2 separate regions of the Homo sapiens genome follow, and region 2 is linked to region 1. Evidence: promoter capture Hi-C in 16 types of primary human blood cells and fetal thymus (Javierre and others, 2016). All regions are on one chromosome and are shown on one strand. Each heading gives the region's core, a stretch centred on a gene start or on the middle of the fragment in contact. The rest is flanking DNA. Distances are from core to core; before and after follow the strand shown.

Evidence for each region. The method cuts DNA at HindIII sites, captures the fragments that hold promoters and counts their contacts. A CHiCAGO score of 5 or more calls a contact.
Region 2: a contact is called between a fragment that was not itself captured here and the fragment with the promoter of VCF1 in region 1, in 13 of 17 cell types (megakaryocytes, fetal thymus, total CD8 T cells and 10 more). The highest score is 22.2, in megakaryocytes.

Annotation. Positions count from the first base shown.
Region 1 is chr17:73,231,144-73,234,379 of GRCh38, forward strand. It overlaps VCF1 (VCP nuclear cofactor family member 1), which reads right to left and starts at 1,251. Exons shown (of 4, transcript NM_001098832.2): 1 at 943-1,251. The coding sequence starts at 1,163. It overlaps MTNAP1 (mitochondrial nucleoid associated protein 1), which reads left to right and starts at 1,290. Exons shown (of 6, transcript NM_001351264.2): 1 at 1,290-1,346; 2 at 2,077-2,182. RefSeq lists an enhancer at 1-744. The HindIII fragment of the contact is 5,222 bases long and covers 638-3,236 here.
Region 2 is chr17:72,726,943-72,730,178 of GRCh38, forward strand. The region is part of intron 7 of SLC39A11 (solute carrier family 39 member 11); the gene reads right to left. Among named protein-coding and RNA genes, the nearest start is that of LINC00511, 88 kb to the left of the region's middle. RefSeq lists an enhancer at 748-1,042. The HindIII fragment of the contact is 2,711 bases long and covers 159-2,869 here.

The DNA.
Region 1 (3,236 bases), core at 1-2,500:
GCAGCTTGGGGAACCCTAGGTTTTCACTATGGGACCAAATAAACTCAGAATACTTTTGAGAACTTCAATCACATGAAATAATTATTTCAGAGAAGGATCCTTGTGGAAAGACCGTAACAGGAAGAGCATTCTGAGGTAACCTTTCCCAACTTTCTCCTCCACACATTCTTGCAGAGGAAATTAAGAGAGAGAAAAAAATTAAGAAATCCCAACTTAGTCCGGACTCTAGTAGTACATGTCAAGCACAGAACCCCTAATTTAAGACCCGCGTCCCGAGGCCAGGCTCCCTCGGGAAGGTAGCGAGTGCATCGCGATAAAATCTTTCCTCCCGCCTTCGGAGTCAAACGGCCCCGCAATCCAAACAGTTTAGAATCCAGCTTGTTCTTAATGCCACAGTCAAGAGAAGATCCATAACCCGCCTTGGTCATCTGCCCTTCTGTGTTCACAACCGTTCAGGGCACAAGTTCTTCGGTCTAACCGAATCTTTCCCTGCTGCGGGGTTAAGCCCAACCTTTCTTTCTGACCTTGGGGAGCCGGCAGCTCCCCGCCCGGTGCCCTCACAAAAGCCTTTGGGGGCTCCCTCTCCAAGATGAGACGTTTATCCCATCCCCCCACCCTCCTAAATTTAGGACAGGAAAGCTTTAGGGCCACCGTCTCTCTTCCGGGACCGATCACACTTCGTTCCAAATAGGAAAAGACAGGGGGGAAAAAAGATGGAGGGGCGGGAGACCTGGACCCCGGAGAGTCACCTTCCAGCTACCCACAGGAACCAAGCATCCGATCACTCGCGCATCCCTCTCCCCTCCTCCCCCGGCCCGCAGTGCACCCCACAGGGAGCCCCGCCGGGTCCACTCTTGCTCCGACCCCCATTTCGCGCGCCCCCTCGGCTCTATCTCCCAGATCCTCAGGCGACGAATGGAAAGGGGGTCCCTTCCCTCTCACCTGGGACGGAGGCGCTCGCTCATGGCAGCTGGCGGATGGAAGCTACGCGGCGCCGCTCCGCGAAGAGAGGGAACAGAGGGGGTTGTGTTTCGGCGGCCGCCACGCCCACCCCCTCGGGCCTTGGCTCTCGCAGCCGCTCGGGTGGACGCAGCCGGTGGCGAGTACCCCTCAGTCGGACCCGTACCACCACTACTTCCGGCGTCTGCTCCGCGCCCCCCCATGTCGCTGCCGCCGTGGTACCGCCCTCTCGCGGCTGCGCAGTGGCACCATCCCAACCGCACCGACTGGTAACCCCGCCCACGGGAAGAGGCGGGCTCGGAGCGGGAGGAGCGACTAGGAGCTTCTGGGAGAAAGGACCTCCCCTGGGGTGGCAGAAGCGCTCGCCTGTTCACAGCCAACGGAGGGTACGGTATAAAAGTCAAGCCAGGTTTCAAATAAATTCAATTATGTCATAATAATATCATACAAGTATTTGAGTTGAATCCGTGTAACATATTTTAAAACAGGCGGACCTATCCGGCAGTGGTGCAGACGGCCTGACGAGGTTCCTTGGCCGGGGGTTGGGCAGGGGCCTGGGGGGCTTCCCTGGGGGGCTTGTCGCCGGGGCCGCCTGGGCTTTCAGGTCTTCCGAGGTGAGGACGGTGCTCTGTGGGGAGCTTGCAAGGGCGGGTTTGTTTTCCGCGGCCCACGTTCTAAGTCTGGGGGAGACTCTCCTGAGCGGAGAGGGTAGGGAATCGGGTGCCGGGGCCGGCGGAGGGTCTTCCTGGAACCGCAGGAGGAAATCCTCGGTGGGGCTGCGGGAACGGCTGTCCCTGACCCAGGAGCTGCCGGGCCGACCCCATCCACTCCGCAGAATCAGAACAGCTGGCAGAATCAGAACAGCTTTCAGGGAAAGGAAGGGTGCGGGGAGGTGGGCAGGCTGGTAACGCAGCGGGAGGAGGGAAAGGCGGCTGGAGAGCGCCGGAGGTGAGGGTGAGGATTAGTGGAACTATTGAGGTCCTCCTTGAGCCCGGAGGCTGGGGAGGTCTTAACTCTCTGCTTTCCGGAACCTGTGTTTCTATTTGGTTCAGTATCGTGCCGCGTTTACTCACTGTGCATGCTGCCAAGTCACCTGTCTGATCGTGTCCTACACAGGCTGACATTCACGTTTCATTCTGCCACACTCGGGAACGGTGATCGGGGAAGCATGGGGATCCGGGAGAAGCACCCACAAAACTAGCATCCTCCTGGAGGAGCTCGGGTAAGAAAACAGACACCCACGTATAGACGTTATCGTGGGAATGTACCGGGATCTTTCAAGTAGGGTTGAGTGTGAGGTGGAGTGGAGGCAGAAACGTCTAGCAGGTGTCAAGCCCTTCCTAACGTTGTTAGCCGAAGGTCCATGGACTGGCTTCATTTGTGTGTATTATTGTAAACAAACAGTCTGTGGCTTTCATCCTGTTAGTGTGTACCTCCAAAGAAAGAAAGAATGATGGCTCACGCCTGTAATCCCAGCAGGCTGGGCGCGGTGGCTCACGCCTGTAGTCCCAGCACTTTGGGAGGCCGAGGCGGGTGGATCACCTGAGGTCAGGAGTTCAAGACCAGCCTGGCCAACATGGTGAAACCCCGTCTCTACTAAAAATACTAAAATTAGCTGGGCGTGGTGGCGCACGCCCTTAATCCCAGTAATCCCAGCCACGCGGGAGGCTGAGGCAGGAGAACCGTTTGAACCTGGGAGGCTGAGGTTGCTGTGAGCCGAGATCGCGCCACTGCACTCCAGCCTGAGTGATAGAGCAAGACTCCATCTCAAAAAAAAAAAGACCAAACAACAACAAAGTAAAAATGATTACTGTAATCTGTTGGCAGAAAACAGTTTTGTTTTGAAGGACTTCGTACAGGATAAGGTGGGTTGGTTGCTTTATTGAATGGATTGGTGAAGATTGTGTCTATTTTGTAAGTGGTTTCAGTCACCCTTTTTAATCTCTTTGGTAGTCAGAAGATATTATCAGTTGTAGTACTGAATAATATTTAAACGTTTATATCTAAAGAATTAAGTGAACAAATATTGTATGCCAGGCTCAGTGCTAGGTTTTTACATACAGCTGTGTGCAGGATAGATATGTTTCCTGCCCTCTGGAACTTTATAGAAAGAATAAGAGATGTAGAAAGGAAATAACTTTCAACTAAACATTGGAATTAAACATTTTCTTTTCTGGACTCTAAAGAATAACAGGTACAAATATACATGGTATAAATGTTTTTTTTTTAATTTTTTACATCGTATATGTTTAACAAAGATGTCAAACTAATTTGCC
Region 2 (3,236 bases), core at 264-2,763, 500 kb before region 1:
TCATATCTTGGGGATGTGTTTTGTGGACTATCCATGGCACACTAAAGTTCGCAGCCAGCCTCCTCTGCTGTGCACAGCCTGCTCTGGGATGGCCGCTGCACCTGTAGGTCAAGGCAGGTCCACAGACTACAAACGTCTCTTGACGCGTGCTTAGTCAAAGCTTAAAACAGGAAGTGGTATGTGAAGCTGAGTGTTTAAGCATAAACAGTCTTACTCTCCCTGCTGGTTTGAATGATGCCTGCCACTGAGTGAAGTGGGAGCTGAGGGCATGTCTCCTCTCCAGAGAACATGTTCTTTGAAGTGACGATACAGCAGAAAGGAAAACCGCTTAAGCATGCAATTCCCCAAGCACATACGGTCTGAAGAATTCCTCTGTGATTGAAACAGAAAGAAACTGCTATGGGACCAGAACAGAAAGAAGCAAGCTGGGGCCAGGCACAGTGGCTCACGCCTGTAATCCCAGCACTTTGGGAGGCCGAGGCGGGTGGATCACGAGGTCAGGAGATGGAGACCATCCTGGCTAACACGGTGAAACCCATCTCTACTAAAAACACAAAAAATCAGCCAGGCGTGGTGGCGGGTGCCTGTACTCCCAGCTACTCGGGAGGCAGAGGCAGGAGAATGGTGTGAGCTCAGGAGGTGGAGGTTGCAGTGAGCTGAGATCGTGCCACTGCACTCCAGCCTGGGTGAAAGAGTGAGACTCCGTCTCAAAAAAAAAAAAAAAAAAAAAGAAAGAAGCAAGCTGTGTTTCCCTTGAACTACAGGCCTCCCTCTGCTGGCTGAGAGTCTTCCTAATTCAGGAGACAATGACCTCTGAATGAACACCTTGGTGCAAGCTGACCTGGCCAGGTAGGGAGGTGGACAGATGGGAAGGAGCTGGGGAGGGCTCCAGGAAGGTGAGGAAGTAACGGCATCTGTACACCAGATGGCAGCAGCCACACACACATGATAGGCGAGGTGCCTGCCTGTCTTCTTCCCAGGTCAGAAACCCCTGAAGTGGGAACTGAAGACAGTGCCTTCTTGGAATAGTTCCTTTTCTTGTGGGTGGCTATAATGCCACAGGCGACGTTTATATGAAGCCTCCTGCTTCAACAGACAGGGCACAAGCAAGAGGTCATAAAAAAGACAGTTGGCCTCAGAGTATTTAATGATGAATATGGGCTAAAAACAGGGATTGTGTCCACTAAAGGAGGGGTCTAACGCTTTCTGAAAAGGGTCAGATAGCCAGGTGTGGTGGCTCACGCCTGTAATCCCAGCACTTTGGGAGGCTGAGGCAGGCAGATCACTTGAGCTTAGGAGTTGGAGGCCAGCCTGGGCAAACTCAATCTCTACAAAAAATACAACAATTAGCTGGGTGTGGTGGTATGTGCCTGTAGCCCCAGCTGCTTGGGAGGGATGCTGAGGTGGGAGGATCGCTTGAGCCCAGGGGGTCGAGGGTGCAGTGAGCCATGATTGCACCACTGCACTACAGCCTGAGTGACAGAGTGAGACCCTGTCAAAAAGAAAGGGAAAGGGAAAGGAAAGGAACAAAGGAACAGGGAGGTCAGATAGTAAATATTTTCAGCTTTGCAGATAGTAAGTATTTCCAGCTTTTCAGCCTTAAGATTTCTCTGGCCATTATGCAGATCAGCCACTGTAGCACATATGGAGCCAAAGACAATATGTAAACAAATGGGTGCGCGTATGCTCCAATAAAGCCTCATTTCCAGAAATAGGTGTTGGGCCAAATTTGGCCCGCAGACCATAGTTTGCCAACCCCTCCACTAAAGGAGTCATAAACTATCTGGCTCAGTTAGCTTGGTGCACGTGTACCCTGGGCCTGTACTGGGTAACGCTTTCCCCAATCTGTGTAAATGGAGTCCTTCTTCCCTCTCAGTTCACTCCACGGCACGAGATTAACCTACGTCTCCTTGTCACTTGGACTCAAATTCTCCCTTCTCCCTTCCACGCGACAACAAAATCAGCTGGCAAACGCTGTCTGTGGGTTCTGTACGCAACAGCTCTTCCTGGGATCAGTCCTCATTCTCATGGTCATCACAACATCCAGTATCTTCTTCATTGCTGCTAAAACACACAGCAGTGGGGTGGGCTGTAAATATTCTTTTTCAGTTGGTGCATTCTTCACACTGGTTTATCTCCCCACCTGCTCTCCCAGATTATTTTATCTTAGCCAGATGCATGTTTGAGTTACCTCTTGGGTGATGTCTCTTGCCTGCATCGGAACCCACCATAGTTGCCAACTTTTTGCTGAGTAATGCACCTGTTTCTTTCCTGCCTCAATCCAATCCTTTATTTATTTAGTTTTATTTTTTTTGAGGCACAGTCTCTCTATTGCCCAGGATGGAGTGCAGTGGCACGATCACGGCTTACTGCAGCCTCAACCTCCCTAGGCTCAGGTGGTCCTCCCACCTCAGGATTCAGAGTACCTGGGACTACAGGTGCATGCCACCCCACCTGGCTATTTATATATATATATATATATATATATATATATATATATATATATATATATATATTTTTTTTTTTTTTTTTTTTTGTAGAGACAGGGTTTCATCATGTTGCCCAGGCTGGTCTTGAACTCCTGGGCTCAAGCAACCCACCTATGTCAGCCTCCCAACATGCTGGGATTACAGGCATGAGCCACTGCAACCAGCCAATCCAATCCTTTAGACATACCTTCTCTAAAGCACCAGAAAATTCTATCTCAGTCATATCGGTTTGTCCACCAGCCCTGAAAAAACCTTGGCACCTACCTTGGCATTTGCTCAGAGTACTACCTGCCCTTATCATCCCCTTACCAAAGCAGACCACCCCTATGCTCCTGATGAAATGTAGACCATTCTATGAAGAGCCCTTGAGAGGAGCAAAAAGCTTGCCTGTCTTCTACTGGTTTCTTGGTCTGGCTTGGATCAAGCCCTTTGGAGCTTGGACTGTGTTAATCTTATGCCGCCTATGGGCTTAACTGTCGATTAATAAATTACTATGGGTATCTTTTCTGCTATTGACTTTCAACTATATCACATCGAAATCAAGACAATGCGGTCTGAATGGCATTGATCTTAGGGTATGTATTCTGACTCTCTCTGTGGCAGAGCACTCTAATCCATTTTAGGAACCCTCACGTGGCTTGAAATGAACGTAAGCTTTCTAATGACTGGGCTACAGTTTATATATGTCCACTGCATGCATTTTGTTAACTTAATATCTGCGTCATCTACAAGTATCAGACAGGGACA